Linked DNA regions of Homo sapiens: region 2 is linked to region 1. Evidence: promoter capture Hi-C in 16 types of primary human blood cells and fetal thymus (Javierre and others, 2016). All regions are on one chromosome and are shown on one strand. The core of a region is centred on a gene start or on the middle of the fragment in contact, and the rest is flanking DNA. Distances in the headings are between cores, read along the strand shown. Region 1 holds the start of LMBRD2 (LMBR1 domain containing 2). Region 2 holds the start of OXCT1-AS1 (OXCT1 antisense RNA 1).

Region 1 (4,136 bases), core at 1,171-3,670:
CCCAGGCCCCTTCTATAGTCCACATCCTTAGCAGGTGGCTTTAATCCTTATGTTCCAGGACAGATGCTGGAACTCCAGGAATCCTATCATCATCTAGACAGCAGGATGGAGAAACAAAGAAGGGTGGACCGTCTTCCTTTTAAAGAGATGTAAGAATCGGCTGGGCACGGAGGCTCACGCCTGTAATCTCAGCACTTTAGGAGGCTGAGGTGGGTGGATCATCTGAGGTCGGGAGTTCGAGACCAGCCTGACCAACATGCAGAAACCCCGTCTCCACTAAAAATACAAAATTAGCCAGGCGTGGTGGCGCATGCCTGTAATCCCAGCTACTCAGGAAGGCTGAGGCAGGGGAATTGCTTGAACATGGGAGGTGGAGGTTATGGTGAGCCGAGATTGCGCCATTGCACTCCAGCCTGGGCAATAAGAGTGAAATTTCTTCTCAAAAAATAAAAATAAAATTAATCAGAAAAAATAAGATACATCAGTAGCAATCACAATGCAGTTCTTTATGACCAGATAGCAACCTCTATGTACCTACTAATCTCGTCTTCAATGGACACAATTCCTTACGTTAAAAAGAATCTAATGTACCAATTTAAACTTGCATTTATTATATTAAGGCAATAGTCATGATTAGAAGGAAGGCAAAAAAAAATTATTCCCATATTAGGAAGATGAAGTATGTCTGTTACCGGGGCAAACTATCAAACTGAATTTCAAAACTGACAGGCTCTCCCTGAAGTCCTAGAGAGGATCTTGTGTTCACTAATTCAGATGTTGCAAGTATTCTAGTTCCCAGGTAACTCCTAGTAAAACCAAGACTGAACAAAGATATTTCTCATCTTTAAATTTAGAATCATCTCATCGATTAAACCTTCCTATCTATGAGATCTATATCTGAAGTGGGCTCTCCCAATTATTTTACATCTCAAAACTGTTTATTCTCATTATGGCATCTTAAATATTTTTGTTTATTCTTTCTCCTCCATTAGCTTACAGGCTCTCTCTGTTTTGTTCCCTTTCCTGAAGGAAACTATAATTTTTTGTGTCAAAAATATTTTCTCCTATGAGTTGCAATCTTCAGGGAAAGGACGTAGCTTCAAACAAAGGCAAATGCTTTCTCCTTAGCCAAAGTAACATAAAGGTCACTTTCTGTAAAACATCAGGATATTGCATTTTAAAATGCTTTCCATATAACATTAGTTTGATGAACGGCTTAGCCTAGGATTCTGCACCTAGTTCCAATCAAAACCAAGTTGTGAACAGATCCCTTCTTTACACCAATCTCATCTTTCAAGAACGAGCTAAAGGTTCATGAATTCCTTCCTCAAGAGGCAGTTACTTTTCAAGCTAAGGACCAAGCTTGAAACAAGCATATACCTGCACAAGGGAGGTTTAATTTCACTACAGAGCGAATCATTTTTTCAAGGAAACCAGAGGGTGTGTCATACAGCATCACTGAATATTCTAATATGCGATGAAGCTGTTATGCTTCCTTATGAACTTTATAAATCTTCATTTTTATGAGGCTTAGAATTCATCCCCCTTCCCTCTTCCACTGTTTTCCCGGGGTCACAGTTGTAGTATAGTTTGCCCAATGGATTTCGCATGGTCATTGTACCTGGAATATGTCACGCTCCCTACTCTTACTGCCCCCAAACTCTTCTCAGCAGAGATAGGCTGAAAGCAGCTCGCTTTTAGGCGGCGACGCAAACACACGTAGCCAGCTGAGCGACAGCAAGCAACCAAATGGCTTTGCTGGAGGCCCCCTGCGTGCACGGGTAAAGCTCGTTGCAAAATACAGTCCTTTCATTTATTCCCATGTTGCTATTTATGAGACCTGTCAAGGCTGCAAGGGCATGCGCAGCCTTCCCACCACACAGGACCCGCTGGGGTCTCCGGCTCCCCTAAAATTAAACCATTGTCTCTCGTTCCAACGGCGTGTTTAGCTGTTGTGCGTTATTTTACAGATAAAGGAAGGATCCCGTCCACAGACCCAATTCTTAGGGCCGCCTTCTCCCCGACGGAGGAAGAAGCTTCCTGGCAAAAGGACGAACAGGTGCGACGCCAGCAGTTCGCAGCCTCTCACCTGGCCGGCGGGCTGGGCTACTGTCACCACTCAGCAGCCAAGGACTTGGGCCCCGCAGCGGCGGCCACTCGGGGTCTGCCGGGTCCCCTCTCTTTCCGCCTGCTCTCGGCCCCGGACCCCAGACTCAAAAGCGCCTCACGCGTTCCGCCTTAGGCTCACCGTCCGATCTCGCCAGACAGCGTCTGGACGGGACCGGGAAACGGCGGCCGCCACAGCTGTCCAGGTTCTGGGATCCACGCTCAGAGACGACAGCGCTGGCGATCACCAGAAGGCCTGCGGGCTCCCGAGAAAGGAAAATCCGTCTACAGTCCAGCGGCTGACATTTCCCAGTCAGCCGTAGCGCCGCCCGCTTCCGCCTCCCCGCCTACCCCGTGGGCCGACCAGTCCCGCTCCCGCGGGGGGTTGTGGGTATCTCGAAGGCGGGTAAAGCTGCAAGGGAAGGAAGTAAGGGCGAGCCCGTCGGACTACGAAGCGGGACGGAAACTACAATTCCCAGCAGGCCTTGGGCCTCAGTGCGGCCGCGAAGCAGAGCGGGCTGTAGAGCCTTGCGCGCGCAGTGGGGATGGAACGTTGCTAGGCTTAGCGGGTCTGGCTGCTGGGGGCCCGAGCAGCACGCTCGGAGCCGCCGCGCGCCAAAGCGGGAATCTGGGAGGCGAGCAGCTCTGCAGTTAATGCACGTATTTTAAACTCCCGGGCCTGCGGACGCTATGCACAGGTAAACGGATTGCAAAAAGGGGAAGAGCATGAAATGGACCCTCTTAATAATTCTTTTAGGCCGCGAATATCGCTACTGGCTAATATTGTTAGTAATGCTGTTAAGTGAATGGTTGCTTAGCCCCTTCTTGGGGAAAGTGTGAATGGATGGATGCCTTAGTGCGGGGATCAGCGTGTGGTTTTATTTGGCTTCCCTAATTGGGCTTTTCTGCCACCGTTTTCAATCAGTGTATGATTGCCCTGTCTCTCTCCTTGTCTGTTCCCTCCACTGGGAGAAATTCTTGAGGCCTTCTGCAGGATCGTAAGTCAAAAAGCCTTCTCGATTTGTTCTTTTCATTTCTTCGTTTTCTTGGTAACTCGCCGCAGGCACATAAAAAATGCGATTCTGTTAGCTGCTGTGAAGGTTTCCTACAATGCATAAACTGCAGCTTCTTTAATTGCCTTGAAATTATTTATGGGTGTGTTTTCGAAAGGAACCGGGGGTATTGTGCACTTCTGCAGGAAGCACCTCCAGGAGATTCCAGACCTGAGTAGCAACGTTGCCACCAGCTTCACGTGGGGATGGGATTCCAGCAAGACTTCTGAACTGCTGTCAGGCATGGGGGTCTCCGCCCTGGAGAAAGAGGAGCCCGACAGTGAGAACATCCCCCAGGAACTGCTCTCAAACCTGGGCCACCCGGAGAGCCCCCCACGGAAACGGCTGAAGAGCAAAGGGAGTGACAAAGACTTTGTGATTGTCCGCAGGCCTAAGCTAAATCGAGAGAACTTTCCAGGTAAGGACATGAGGGTAAAAATGTCAGTTATGCAAAGGGTGGATTTAGCTATGTTGTTGGGAAACCTTTGTTCAGAGATCTTTAGCATGGGTTCCTTTTAAGATTGCCTAATTCTGAAGCTATTTTTCAACAAAATAGGGCAAGTCGTCAAGTATGCAGGAATCTTGGTAGATATATATATATATATATATATATATATATGTATGTTCTGGTGCATAATCACCTTGAAAATTTTAACCCATGAGAAGACATTCCTGCCTTTTTCCTTAGAAGGGAATCTGCCTGCCTCAAGGCCAGCTCAGTTTCACCGTTTAACAGAAACATAAACAGTGGTCTTCTTGTAGGATTCCTTTTGCTTTGTACCCCTGAGTGATCTTTTTGCCTTAATCACTTTAGTTATTTATCAGTGGACTGCGAAGTGAACGTTCACCTAAGTGGGGGAGACATCTCCCCAGGCCCACTCCCACCCCCATATTGGCTTCTCCTGGTATGTTCTGTCTCCATTACTGCTGACACTATCTGTTTAATCACCCAACCCGAAAACCTGAGAGTCAGTCAGC
Region 2 (4,226 bases), core at 1,724-4,223, 5.7 Mb after region 1:
TGCAGAGTTTCTTTTTTCTTTTCTTTTTAATTTTTTTATTTCCATAGGTTTTTGGGGAACAAGTAGTATTTGGTTACATGAGTAAGTTCTTTAGTGTTGATTTGTGACTTGATCATTCCATGACGAAGGGACAGCAAAGCTTTTGAAACAGATGTCACAACTCAAAGGAAGCCTGAATTAAGAAAGTGGTATGGAAACTCATTATTTCTTTCCTTCACTCATTTGTACCAACTATACAAAATACTGGGGCTACAAAGTTAAAATATTGAAAATAAAACCCAGACATAGCCCCTGCTATAATGAAACTTACAAACTAGCAAAGATAGTAGTCATTAAATAATTACAAAATTTTAAACACAATCATAGTATTTAATTGGGGAGCTATAAGGAAGAAACAGTTGCTGAGAAAGAATGCCAGGGACAGCACTGAGGAACATTTCAGAAAGAGGCACACATATGACACTTGGTGATCAATTGGAAGTGCAGCAAGGAGAAGAGAAGATGGTTCCAGGATTTCCAGCTTATATACTGGATGGATACTGGTGCTGTTAAGCACAGTGATAGAAGAACAAAACAAGGAATGGGAAAGCCACTTTATGGCTAGTTTGCTTTGGATCAGAAAGAGCTTTAAGCACCAACTGACATCCAAGTGAAGTTCACCAGTTGCACCAGAAGGACTGCAGCTCAGGAGAGTCAGAGGTTGGAAAGAGATTTGGGAAAAGACAGGGTCAAGGATGAATGGTGGGTAAAGTGTTAGTGGTACTCTTATAACCTTTTTCCCACTAATAATTTTCTATAGTGAAAATAGTATTAAATGCTCCCCACTGCCCCTCAGTAATAATGAAGAAAAGAAGATACCTCCCAATAGTCTATTTTCACCTAAGTCCATGCCAGATAACTCTGAAAGGGGCAGTCAGTCCCCAGACCAGCAGCATCAACATCACCTGGAACTTATCAATGCAAAGTTTAGGGCCCCACCCAGGACCTATTAAATTAGAAATTCTGGGGGTGGGTACAGCAATCTGTTTTAGAAAACCTCCAGGTAATGCTGATGCACTCTCAGGTCTGCGAGACACTGGGCCTGCCCATTATAAAAATGTTAAACATTTAAGAAAATAACTATCTCGTTTTAGCTGTTAGTTATGTTTAGTGGAAAAACTCAAGGTTTCTGTTTGCCTGGAGGGTTCTCTCATCCGTACTTTAAACATGTGTAGAATATCTGATCTATGCAGAGTAGTGTGTTTGTTGAGGGAGACTAAGTGTAAGGCATAAATATGGTCTCTGCCATCGGGGAACTGTCATCTGGTTGAGGAGACAATATACACATCTGAAAAGTTAAACAAGTAGATAAGTGGTACAGTTCAACAGAAGCAGCAGGTGAGGATTTAAAGTGCTAAACAATAAGGGCTGTAATCCCAGCACTTTGGGAGGCCGAGGCGGGCGGATCACGAGGTCAGGAGATCGAGACCATCCCAGCTAAAACGGTGAAACCCCGTCTCTACTAAAAATACAAAAAATTAGCCGGGCGTAGTGGCGGGCGCCTGTAGTCCCAGCTACTTGGGAGGCTGAGGCAGGAGAATGGCGTGAACCCGGGAGGCGGAGCTTGCAGTGAGCCGAGATCCCGCCACTGCACTCCAGCCTGGGCGACAGAGCGAGACTCCGTCTCAAAAAAAAAAAAACAATAAGGGCACTAAGAGCCACAAGCTAGGGGAATAGTGGAAGGCAGGAGTTAGACCTATGATAATCAAGCCTGACAGGGCTAAGTTTGAACTCTGTATGAACTTTTAATGAGATATAGCAGAACCCCTTATTTGCATCTCGTCCCTCTAAGATGAGGTTTGCTGAGCTTCGGAAATGGTTTAATGATATACTCAAGATGGAAAAGACTTGAAGTGAGTAAATTACAGTTGGGCAAATCAGTAACTGTCAAAAGAAGGAACGTTCCTGACCTCGGCCCAAGGGTATCGCTGTGCTCTGGTTTGTATTAGCTTCAGCACCGCTGCAATCTCACTGAAGGTCAAGTTCCCTTTTAATAATGCTTTATATATCCAAGTCTATCTGCAGTTATAAAAATGCTTCCTAAGAGGCATTTAAGAGTAAAATGGTCCAGTTCTGAACCATTCCCTAGCACCTACCGAAGGAGCTCAGTGGCTCCTCTGTGTTCTCAGCGGTCAGGGATTGGATGCAGGAAAGAGCAATGGGGCCAGGCAGGCACGCTTCAGGAGTAAGCACCGTGTGCATGGCACGCTGTCAAGCTCAGACCTATTACTGAATACCAAGGAAGAGGCTCCCGCGATTGAGACGGCGGGGATAAAGCCACCCTCCTGGACCTGGCGCTCTGGTCCTGTAATTCGCTCCTAGGGCTCCAGACAGGGGTGGGCTTACAAGCGAGGACAGTGCATAAGGCAAAACCACAAGTCAGTCCACGGTGGGAATGCCTCCGGATACCACTCGGTGGAGAGTCGGCAGTGGGGCACAAAAAGGATTTCAAAGGGCTCTGAAAACCGAAAGCCCCTAACCCGGATACGAGGGGCCTCGAGAGAAAGGTTTGTCCTCCCCTGCAGCCCAGGCGCGGGCCAGGGACACACCTCGGATGGTTTCCCAGCTTGGCCGGCAAGACGCCCTGGCGAGCGCTCCAGTCTACGGGGCAGCAGAGCCAAATAGGGAGGAGAGGATGGGAGCGGCATTCCACACCCGCCGCACCCGGCATCCAGCCCCGGTGAACTCGAGCAGAGCCATGGCTAACCCAGCCTCAGGTTCTGGGCCTCTAGAGGTTCCTCTGCCCAGAGATCCAACATCGGGGGCGCAAACCTACCCGCTGTTGCCTCACTCCTAAACCTCCATATACTGGCGCCCTCCTCCCCCCGTTCAGACCCTCAGAGTCCCTATCCAAGGGCGGGTGCCAGGAGGGAAGCCGACGAGCGCCAAAGGGCTCGGGAGCGCTGCCAGGAGTCCTCCCGCCCCTTCTCAGCCTCTCCGCGCGCTTCTTTATCGCGTCTCGCTCCATCAGGGAAGCGACTGCAGAACCAAGCAAAGGCGGTCATCCGAGGGGCCGGCGAGGCCAGGAACGCGTCGCCGCGTGTCCGTGACCAGGGCACCGCGCCACGGATGCCAGATCCCAGGCTGGAGAGAGCGGGTAGGGGCAGAGAAGAAAACGCGGGCACCACTCAGGGTTTGGTCCACGTTCTTCCTGCCCATGGCCTTCCTCTTCCCCCGCACTTTACCTTGTACCAGGTTGCCCCAGATCCGCGGGCAGAGGCGCAGAGCCGAAGCCCGGAGGAGAGGAGTTTGAGAGCCGCCATCTTCGGGCGGTGAGGCAGGAGGAGGCTGCGGGTTGGAGCGCGCGTTTGAGCGTCGGTGCGCGACTGCGAAGGAAACCCGGGCGGGCTGGAGGCTCGACAGCGCGTCGATGACGTCCTCCCGGCCTTTCGAGCCGCACGCCACCGGCGCGCTGCTGGCTGCTGCTTTTAAAAGAAGTGAGGCTGGGCGGGGCCCCGGCGGGGAGAAGAGGCTCTGTGCAGCCGGGGCGGATCGCGGGGAAGTTCCTCTCAGCGCCTCAGGTGTCTGGGCGTGTGCAGCTGTGTTGGCGCACACTTGCCGCTACAGCCCTTCTGTCAGCCCTTTAGCTTCGATGGGGCGCTGGTGGCCGCCTCCCCCTAGGTTGTGGATGAGTCTTGGCCTAGGGTTCAGGGCCCTCCGGCCGCGGGAGGATCTCCCGCCAAGCTTGTTGCTTTTCCAAGTTAGTGCCTGGCGTGTGTGTGGGCTGCATAGGGGCACCCCTCGAGGCCCCCTTCTCTTCTCCCGCCTGGACTGCGTTCACGTTTCTAACATTTCTCAGCCCCTTCTCCCCACATCTGGCCTTGGCTTACATAGAGTAAGTTTGCTGTGAGCACTTGCCTCGAACTGTCGGTCAAGAGGTGTGAGCAACAAGGCTTGCAGAGGAACAAGATTAAGACTGGACCTCTGTGACCTGAGTTTAGCACACCTTTTCTTCCCCATCATCCAAGTTTGCGAATTTCGGGCTCTTTCTCGCACTGGAGTCCCAGCAACCCCAGAGATTACTAAAGATGCAACCATAAAAGCAGTATATTGCTTTAACCTTAGGCAAGTTAGATAACTTCCCTAAGCCTCAGTGTCCTCATCTGCAAATTAGGATTGCTTGTGATACAACGTCATAACGTTTCTATGAGTTAATTCATGCAAAGTTTATGGCCTTATTATGAGGA

The links. Contacts are between HindIII fragments. The CHiCAGO score rates a contact against its expected background, and 5 or more counts as called.
Region 2: a contact is called between the fragment with the promoter of OXCT1-AS1 here and the fragment with the promoter of LMBRD2 in region 1, in 1 of 17 cell types (non-activated CD4 T cells). The highest score is 7.2, in non-activated CD4 T cells.

Annotation. Positions count from the first base shown.
Region 1 is chr5:36,149,467-36,153,602 of GRCh38, forward strand. LMBRD2 (LMBR1 domain containing 2) reads right to left here and starts at 2,421. Exons shown (of 18, transcript NM_001007527.2): 1 at 2,090-2,421. It overlaps SKP2 (S-phase kinase associated protein 2), which reads left to right and starts at 2,645. Exons shown (of 10, transcript NM_005983.4): 1 at 2,645-2,804; 2 at 3,305-3,576. The coding sequence starts at 2,797. RefSeq lists silencers at 1,692-1,751, 2,352-2,491 and enhancers at 1,705-2,688, 2,762-2,951. The HindIII fragment of the contact is 3,342 bases long and covers 2,035-4,136 here.
Region 2 is chr5:41,867,057-41,871,282 of GRCh38, forward strand. It overlaps OXCT1-AS1 (OXCT1 antisense RNA 1), which reads left to right and starts at 2,974. Exons shown (of 3, transcript NR_046635.1): 1 at 2,974-3,136; 2 at 3,235-3,326; 3 at 3,710-4,226. OXCT1 (3-oxoacid CoA-transferase 1) reads right to left here and starts at 3,369. Exons shown (of 17, transcript NM_000436.4): 1 at 3,225-3,369. The coding sequence starts at 3,302. It overlaps LOC102723752 (a long non-coding RNA gene), which reads left to right. Exons shown (of 3, transcript XR_925956.4): 1 at 1-2,546. RefSeq lists enhancers at 3,006-3,085, 3,916-3,965. The HindIII fragment of the contact is 3,584 bases long and covers 138-3,721 here.